Linked DNA regions of Homo sapiens: region 1 is linked to region 2. The links are contacts of gene promoters, found by promoter capture Hi-C in blood cells and fetal thymus (Javierre and others, 2016). All regions are on one chromosome and are shown on one strand. The core of a region is centred on a gene start or on the middle of the fragment in contact, and the rest is flanking DNA. Distances in the headings are between cores, read along the strand shown.

The links. The method cuts DNA at HindIII sites, captures the fragments that hold promoters and counts their contacts. A CHiCAGO score of 5 or more calls a contact.
Region 1: a fragment that was not itself captured here is called in contact with the fragment with the promoter of BPHL in region 2 in 1 of 17 cell types (neutrophils); the score reaches 5.8 in neutrophils.

What each region holds. Positions count from the first base shown.
Region 1 is chr6:2,834,986-2,839,487 of GRCh38, reverse strand. It overlaps SERPINB1 (serpin family B member 1), which reads left to right. Exons shown (of 7, transcript NM_030666.4): 3 at 802-939; 4 at 1,489-1,606; 5 at 3,238-3,380; 6 at 3,465-3,632. Among named protein-coding and RNA genes, the nearest start is that of SERPINB1, 4.6 kb to the left of the region's middle. The HindIII fragment of the contact is 5,549 bases long and covers 366-4,502 here.
Region 2 is chr6:3,117,388-3,122,299 of GRCh38, reverse strand. It overlaps BPHL (biphenyl hydrolase like), which reads right to left and starts at 3,589. Exons shown (of 7, transcript NM_004332.4): 1 at 3,453-3,589. The coding sequence starts at 3,559. It overlaps LOC107986556 (a long non-coding RNA gene), which reads left to right and starts at 3,653. Exons shown (of 4, transcript XR_001743928.3): 1 at 3,653-4,511. RefSeq lists a silencer at 3,292-3,681 and an enhancer at 3,720-4,355. The HindIII fragment of the contact is 8,418 bases long and covers 2,681-4,912 here.

The DNA of each region.
Region 1 (4,502 bases), core at 1,891-4,390, 280 kb after region 2:
ATTGTTAGTTGCTTCTTGCAGGGTTATATCAGTTCCTAGCTTGAGGTTTTCCAGGGACTTTAAAACCTCAGCAAAGAATAGTTTTAAGGACTCCTCCCCCATTTCCATTAAAGCAGATGGAGCATAGGCACAGTGCAAACATTCCATATCTCGGTGAGTAATGTGGACTTCGTACCCTATGCAATTTTGTTCTTTGTGTCTTAATCATAAAGGAACCAGCCTAGGTCTCATAAAACCACAAAGGGCCTCTTGATTTGTAACTGATACATGGGGAATTAAACTTTTGCCAGAATGTTAAGTTTAAGGAAGTTATTTTAAAATAAGTGAGTTACTGATGTTAATAGGGTAATAAAATTTTAAAAGCTTCAGTCTGTACTATCTTTGTGGTTCTGAATAGAGGATGAATCCTATTTTTACTGCTTATTTCTGAGAACTTTCAGTAAAATTATATTTGATACAGAATATAAATATGAACATACCATTTATTATTTTCTTTGGAAAAGGCAGACTTATATATAAATATTTAGTATCTTAACCACCCACATTTGTGGAACTGCAAGTGTAACAAAGAGTGATGTAAAAGCAATGTGTAAAGTTGTAAACATTCTGTCTCACGAAGCCATAAATTTTGGATTTCCTATTGTTTGTTCTGCAATGACAAATTAATAAAGTATTGGGTTTGGGATCATCAATAATTAGTAATAAAAACACATTAATTTAATGTGATAGAAGGAAACACCAAGGAATCACTTTATAGTTTCAAAATAAATGGTTGTAGAAAGAAGATTTTCTTTATTTTAGACTTTCCATTTCAACACGGTTGAAGAGGTTCATTCAAGATTCCAGAGTCTGAATGCTGATATCAACAAACGTGGAGCGTCTTATATTCTGAAACTTGCTAATAGATTATATGGAGAGAAAACTTACAATTTCCTTCCTGTAAGTACTTTGCCCTTCACATTCTAAAACCCCACTAGACAGTGCAGATATTTTCCAGCACAATCAAGTCATGGAGGTCAGTTTTAATATTTGTAAACTTTCAGAAAAACAATACAGAAGGCAAACATGGCAAAAACAATATGGAAGGCAAACACGACAGAATGCAAACTTTAATTGACATGGTGATTTTGTGTTACAGTCTTTTTAGTGAAAAGATAGCTCTTGGAGGTTTTACTGAAGCAAGAGTACAATCAGTGTTTGTGAAATCTTAGTCAAAGTTCAGAAAAGAGTGGTAATTTCTATATAACAACAACAGTATAAGGGTTAGGCTTACCACTACTGGAATGCACAGTTAAAAGTGGCTAAGATCGTAAATTTAATGTTAAATGATTTTTACTACTATAAGAAAAACTATAAGAGTTAGAAATTTTGTGTTACATGGAATTGTAGCCTTTTAGGACAATTTCTGTTGCTTTTTGGGATTTTAGAAAACAATTTCTATATGTAGTAGGAGTTATATATATATTTCCTTTTCCTTTTTTTTAATAGGAGTTCTTGGTTTCGACTCAGAAAACATATGGTGCTGACCTGGCCAGTGTGGATTTTCAGCATGCCTCTGAAGATGCAAGGAAGACCATAAACCAGTGGGTCAAAGGACAGACAGAAGGTGAGAGCCTGGGCAGAATGGAATCATTATGCGCTGGTCATGTCATTCGTTTCCTCAGTCCGCCTTCCCTACCTGCAGTTATTCCCTCCCCAGCTCCCACAGTCCTGGCGCACATCGTGGTTACAGTCAGAGGACGCTGCCGGTGCGTGAAGTCTGCACTGCACGTTGCTGGACAGCTCTCACATGTTCGAAGTTCACCAGAGTGGAAACTTAAACATGATTTAACTCAAGCAGCTAAATCCTTTTTTCTCATCAGCTCCCCAAAACTTTTAAAGTTGCATTTCAAAGTTAAAACCAACATTGGCAGGCGCGGTGGCTCATGCCTGTAATCCCAGCACTTTGGGAGCCCAAGGCGGGCGGATCATTTGAGGTCAGGAGTTCAAGACCAGCTTGGCCAACATGATGAAACCCTGTCTCTACTAAAAATACAAAAAATTTAGCCAGGTGTGGTAGCACACACCTGTAATCCCAGCTACTCTGGAGGCTGAGGCAGGAGAATCTCTCGAACACAGGAGGTAAAGGTTACAGTGAGCCGAGATCATGCCACTGTACTCCAGCCTAGGCAACAGAGCGAGACTCCGTCGTAAAAAAAATAATAAAAATAATAAAAAATAAAAAATAAAGTTAAAACCAACACTGAATACAGCAAAAAAGGAATTAAAATTTTGAGGAGAATTCAGCCTGCCAAAAATTACCTAATACTCATATGGAAAGAAATGTCCTGGAATTTCATGGAAATACCTGAAATCAATATTCACAAACTACTGTGGTTGTAAATTTTTTGCCAACATCTTGTCCAGTAAAAAAGTTGTGGTAGGTGGGGACTGACTTGCTTTTAGGGTGCAATTTATTTCTTTGCTACATCTCTCTTCTTACATAGCCCTGTATTAGTCAACCCACTCCAGAAGACCTGTCTTCCATTATGGGAATTGTTCCCAGCCATACTTATGGTCACGAAGGTGACCTTTATTTCCATGGAGTATGTTCTGCTGGTTTTTTTGTTTGTTTGTTTGTTTTTTGTTTTTAAGAGACAGAGTCTTGCTCTGTCGCCCAGGCTTGAGTGCAGTGGTGCGATCGTGGCTCACTGCAGCCTTGACCTCCTGGGCTCAAGGAATCTTCTCATCTCCACCTCCCAAAGCACTGGGACTGCAGGTGTGCGCCACCATGCTTGGTCTTGTTCTGCCTTTTGGATATTGTTTAAACCTTTTTTTGTGAGAGTAGGCATCTACTCAGCGATTTGAAGAAGTGATTTACTGATGACTAAAGATATCTTCATTAAGAATTTTTTTTTTCTAAAAAAGAATGGTTGTTACAAAATAAGGCTCATTGTTTATCATACAGTCCAGAAAAGGAGAATTTTCCTGTCTTTTGTCTTTCGGCACATTTGACTTGTTTAAAATGTCAGGTCCTTGTGGGAAGTTTGTGTGTCATCCTGGTCTGTCTGCCCCACAGGTTGTTATACTTAAAGTAGAGACATGTTAGTGAGTAGGGCTTTCCTAAGTTAATATCTTGTTAAATGAAAATTAAGTAGAAATTATATATTTGAATTGCATTTCCGTGCTAATATATTGTCAGTTCAAATTTGGAATTCCGATTTGGATTTTTTTTACGCTAACTTGATTTTTTTTTAGGAAAAATTCCGGAACTGTTGGCTTCGGGCATGGTTGATAACATGACCAAACTTGTGCTAGTAAATGCCATCTATTTCAAGGGAAACTGGAAGGATAAATTCATGAAAGAAGCCACGACGAATGCACCATTCAGATTGAATAAGGTGAGGTGAGGTAACTGTACAGAGTCATGCATTGCTCTAAAAGAATGCAGAGAATAATTTCAGTGATTTTTTAAAACTGTTCAGAAAGACAGAAAAACTGTGAAAATGATGTATCAGAAGAAAAAATTTGCATATGGCTACATCGAGGACCTTAAGTGCCGTGTGCTGGAACTGCCTTACCAAGGCGAGGAGCTCAGCATGGTCATCCTGCTGCCGGATGACATTGAGGACGAGTCCACGGGCCTGAAGAAGGTATGGCTCCTGGGCTTCATGCTTTGTGGTTCCTCTTGCATGTGTGTGTCGCATGGTAGGTAGGTGCTTGTTAAGTGTTCACTGATGGTGCATTTTCCAGTAGTTTGTCATTCCTTTGTAAATGTAGCCCATCAACACTTACTACACTAAAGCCCAGAGTTAATTTTTTTTTAAATTTACTTATAGAGACAAGGTCTCACTATGTTGTTTAGGCTGGTCTTGACCTCCTGGCTTCCAGCAATCCTCCTGCCTCAGCCTTCTGAGTAGCTGGGACTATAGCTGTGAGCCACTGTGCCCGGCTAACGTTTCATTTTTCAAGAAAGATGGCCAGCTACTTTCAGTGGACACTTGTGATGGGGTCATTAAAGATCTATACTAAATATAATACTGGTTAGTGGCAGCTCATGGAAAGGCTCTTGAATTAGCTTTAGAGGAAATTACAGTAAGATGAGGATTGTTTTACTGAGGAAAAAGATTGAAAAGCCCCAAATAGTGTAGCATATATCTTCATCACGTACTATAAAATTCTATTATTACACTGTTTGTTCTCATCACAATTCATATAGATAGTGAATTAAATTTTCAATGGGTACAAGACAGAAAAAGCCTCATGTGACATGTTAGGCCTATTTACTAGTATGATCTTTGCATGAGGTTTCCATTATATGTAGGGACTCTAGCCTGCTCTGTGCTCTCCGTCTCCTCCCTATCCACCTATTCATCATCCTTGCTATCAGGAAGGGGGTCTAATGTTAATCATTTGCATGTACAGACTTTTAATACATTGTATAACAATCAATGTGGCCTTTCTTTTGGTTGTATTTTTGCATTAGTTTTTTTTCTGATTGTAAAGTGAAAATCTCTAGCCTC
Region 2 (4,912 bases), core at 2,340-4,839:
TTTTTATTTATTTATTTTTTGAGATGGAGTCTCACTCTGTCGCCCAGGCTGGAGTGCAGTGGCGCCATCTCGGCTCACTGCAAGTTCCACCTCCCGGGTTCACACCATTCTCCTGCCTCAGCCTCCCAAGTAGCTGGGACTACAGGCACCCGCCACCACGCCCGGCTAATTTTTTTGTATTTTTAGTAGAGACGGGGTTTCACCCTGTTAGCCAGGATGGTCTCAATCTCCTGACCTCGTGATCTGCCTGCCTCAGCCTCCCTAAGCGCTGGGATTACAGGCCCGGCCCATCTCCTTTTTCTTCTACATACTCTCTACTCCTACCTCTGCCCTTAGTCAAAGGATAACTGAAACACAGCCCTTTTGAAAAAATGAGGTCCTGTTTTATCTTTTGGTTTAATCTTATTTGCCAGTCTCAAGTAAAAAAGAAACAAACGTGGAAACAGATGTGTTGAATACAGGTACATCTACTCTTAACATACCATTTCTGGAAAAATAAAAGACAGAATTGGGTAGTAATAAGGTCTGACTAAACTATAAGCTCCTTATCTACAGAAATATTATTAAAGGGGCATCAATGAAGCCACCAAGCAATGGCAATACTGACTCTGCCATTTACTTATTATGATTACTGCCCTATTCCTCTGAGAAATTCATTTCTACAGTTAAGATAGCTTAGGATCGGCCAGGTGTGGTGGCTCACACCTGTAATCCCGATACTTTGGGCGGCCCAGGTGGGTGGATCACGAGGTCAGGATCACGAGGTCAGGAGATCAAGACCATCCTGCCCAACATGGTGGAACGCCATCTCTACTAAAATACACACAAAAAAATTAGCCCGGCATGGTGGTGCACACCTGTAATCCCAGCTACTCAGAAGGCTGAGGCAGGGGAATCGCTGGAACCTGGGAGGTGAAGATTACAGTGAGCCGAGATCGTGCCACTGCACTCCAGCCTGGTGACAGAGAGAGACTCCGTCTCAAAAAAAAAAAAAAAAAAAAAAAAAAAGAAACTGCTATTATCATATTGTATGTTCAGCTATTTCTTTTGTGTATGTTTTGTGAAGTAGCCATTATCTACAATAAAGTATTTGCTACCTTCAGGGCTTGAAATTTGCATGAATCTTGATGAATTATTTTTACATCTCTTATATATTGTACTATTATATAAATATTCCCATTGTGCCTACTAATTACTTCATGTTTATTATATCCCCAGGCTTTTACATTTATTGTTTCAAATCCTCACAAAAACGCTGCAAGGCAGGAGGCTCAGAGAGGTTGAACAATCTGCCCACACTCACAGAGCTAGGAAGTGGCCACGGGGCCATTAGAACTCCAGAGGCCATGATTCCTCTCTAACCTCATGGCTGAACAGAGTCCTAAGAGGGCTCAGGCACCGGGGCCACACTCTGACTGCCAGATACAGCGTGGTGGCAAGCGTCAGCAGAAGGACAGTCTCTGATTCTCTGGCAGGGCATCCCAAGGTTGAACTTGGAAAATATTTTTTAGGAAGATTGTTAGGTTATGTGAATTATTAATATTTATAACTGCACATAATATCCAATTTCAGGTAGAAAAGGCTTTTCTTGACCTGACCCAGGAATAAATCACCTTACGGATTTTGAAATAAGGGTCAAAGTTCCAAACAGCAGACTTACAAACAAGTTTTTGGAACAAAAGTCAGTTGTAGGTTGGGCACTGGCTATTCTGAAGCAAAGTTTTTACACGAATCCTTTTACCTACTGACACTGAGCTACAGCTGCATTTCAGGATTAACTAATACCACTGCTTGTTTTCCCAGATTATATGTCATATCAACTTGCAGCTGCATTTATAAAACGGCCGTACAAAATCCAGAAAAACCTGTTTCTTCAGAGATATTTTAGGAAGAATGATCTGCAATGCAACTAGATGGATGGGGCCTTCCTCAACCATTAAATAACCTATCAGAACTATACTGGTAGGCCGAGAGCGGTGGCTCACGCCTGTAATCCCAGCACTTTGGGAGGCTGAGGCAGGTGGATCATTTGAGGTCAAGAGTTCGAGATCAGCTTGGCCAACATGGTGAAACCCCATCTCTACTAAAAACACAAAAATTAGCCGGGCATGGTGGCAGGTACCTGTAATCCCAGCTACTCGGGAGGCTGAGGCCACGAGAATCGCTTAAACCTGGGAGGCAGAGGTTGCAGTGAGCGAGATCACAACACTGCACTCCAGCATGGGCAAAAGAGCGAGAGTCAGTCTCAAAAAAAAAAAGAACTATATTGGTACAATCACAGTAACTTATTTCGATGCCTTTCTGCAGACAGGAAACTGGAAAAAATAATCATTTTCACTGTTAATTTATACAGCTGTAGCCATTAACATGTTTTTCCATCTATCAAAATAGCCCTGACCATCTTATAATAATTCTAAAATTAAAGGAGCTAGTCAATTGCAATATGAAATTTTAAAAGCTGGTCAGATTTGCCCTCTTTTCTCCTTCTAAATCAAGTTTTCAAACTAAAAGTTTCTATGTTGGATCAAGTACAGTTCTAAACGCTGTGTACCTATCTAGTACTGACTTTATGAAAGTAGCCCATCAACAGTCAACTGCGCACATGCACTGTGTACGTTCGTTGTATACGTGTGTTTGCATGTGTGTAGGGATGTATGTAGAGAATAAAGTAAAACAAGCTTCATGCCGCTCTATCCACATTTCTGCCCAGTATCTCTTGGGACCAAGAGTATCCATTTTCAAGACAGAAGGTCAGAAATTAATCCAGTTTTTTTGTTATTGTTTTACCTGAAATGGGGGGACAGGTGGGAGGACAAAAGAGAATAAAGCAGATTCCTGGGCATCTCCACACATGTAGATCAGATCCTCTGGGAGTGAGGCCCAGGATTCTGAATTTTCAGTTCCCAACGTGATTCTTTTGCACATTAAGGTACGAGATCAGCAAGCAAAGAGAAGACTTAGGGCTCTCGGGACCCGTGATTAAAGCCTTAGCGGTACTCAGGCTCAGGCTGATTTCTGACATAAGAGAAAGAAGAGATTATTGTCCTTATGCCCTTAGTGTGGACTCTGGACAGAGCAATGGACTAATGAGGGCGTTGGGATTCTAGTCCGTGCTCCGTCACGGGTGAGTCCATACTACAGGCAAATGTATCTCCCTGGGTCTCTCTGGTCTGCACACTGAAGGGGCTGCACTCTATAGCCCAAGCCTCCACGGCTCCAGACTCCTTGAACTGAGGCTGACCGAGGCGCATGCACGATCGAGGGGCTCGAGCACCAAGCGCGGCTGGCCCCCAGGATCGGGGTCTCGCGGCACAAAGGGCGACAGGGCAGCCAGGCCGCGCCCACGCCCCGTGCCCGCGCGCCGGGAACTCCTGCTGTCGGCACGCGCCCCTCCCGCCGCCCCTCGAGCGCGCCGATGCTGGGGATCCCCGGGGCGAGGTGGCCGCCATTACCCGAACGCGGCCGCGGGTCCGGCCCGTGGGACGTGGATCCCGGGCTTCAGCGCTGAGAGAAGCAGCCGCAGGCGCAACACGCCCCGGCCGCCCAGCACAGCCACCATGGTCACAGGTCGCGTAGCTGCCGGGAGTGCGCATGCGCTAAGACCAAGCGCGGTACCCGGCCCACTCTGCCCCGAAGCCACGCCCTCTGCTCCGCCCACCTCGCCTCTCCATCCTGCTCCGCCCTCTGCCCGCCCCGCCCCGAAGCCACGCCCTGCCGGGTGCTTTCCCATGGGCGACCGAAACTCGGCTCGTGGTTTCGCAGTCCTGGAACCGCCGGCACCCGCGTAGACCGTCCCCTCTCGGTGCTGGCTCTGGCTCCCGGGATGAGTGTCCCCGTCGGCGCTGCCCCGCCCTCGCTCGTCGCCTCAGCGACCATGGCCTTTCCAGGAGGCGAGGCCGCCAGCCATAGCGCCCTCGCTGCGTCGGCGTCCAGGCGGGACTCCGGAGTGGGCGGGGCTCCGGCTCTAGGCAGGCTGCTATGTTGGATCAAGTAAAGTTCTAAACGCTGTGCACCTATTTAGTACTGACTAGTACTAGGAAGTGTATTTGCTTTTCGGAGATGATGGGATCTAAATTTTGTTTATACCACTTCACGCCCATTAGGATGGCTACTAGCAAAACCCCCAGAAATTAGTGTTGGTGAAGATGTAGAGAAATTGAAGCCCTTGTATATTGCTGTTGGGAATGTAAAATGGTGCAGCCATGTGATGAACAATACTGCGGTTCCTCAACAAATCAGTTATATGATCCAGCATTTTCTTTTCTGGGTATATAACCCAAAAGAATTTAAAACAGGGTGTACAAGAAGAAATGTTTTTACACTCACGTTGACAGCGGCACTATTCACAATAGCCAAAAGGGTGGAGGCAATTTAAGTGTCCAAAAACAGATACATGGATAAGCAAAATGTTGTCTGTGCATGCAAGGGAACATTTTTTAGCCTGAACAAAGAACGAAATTCTGACACTTGCTACTACATGGATGAACCTGGAGGACACTATGCTGAGGGAGGTAAGCCAGTCAAAAAAAGACAAATACTGTGTGATTCCACTTATATAATAAGGTACCTAGAGGAGTCAAACTTATAGGGACAGAAAATAGAATGGGGGTTGTTGAGGGCTGGTGGAAGGGGGAATGGAAAGTTGGTGTTTCATGGGGACAGAGTTTCAGTTTGGAGAGATGAAAAAGTCCTGGGGATGGATTTTGGTGATGCCTGCATTACATTGTGAGTGTACTTACTGCCACTGAACTACACACCTAAAAGTGGTTTAAGTGGTAAGTTTTATGTATGTTTTACCACAATTAATTTTTTTTCTTTTGGCTGTATAATTGCAGCTTTATAAAGGTTATAGACATTATCTAATTGAAAGCTCAGTGGAGAAAAAAAACAACTATTGCTTTTTAAGTCAATC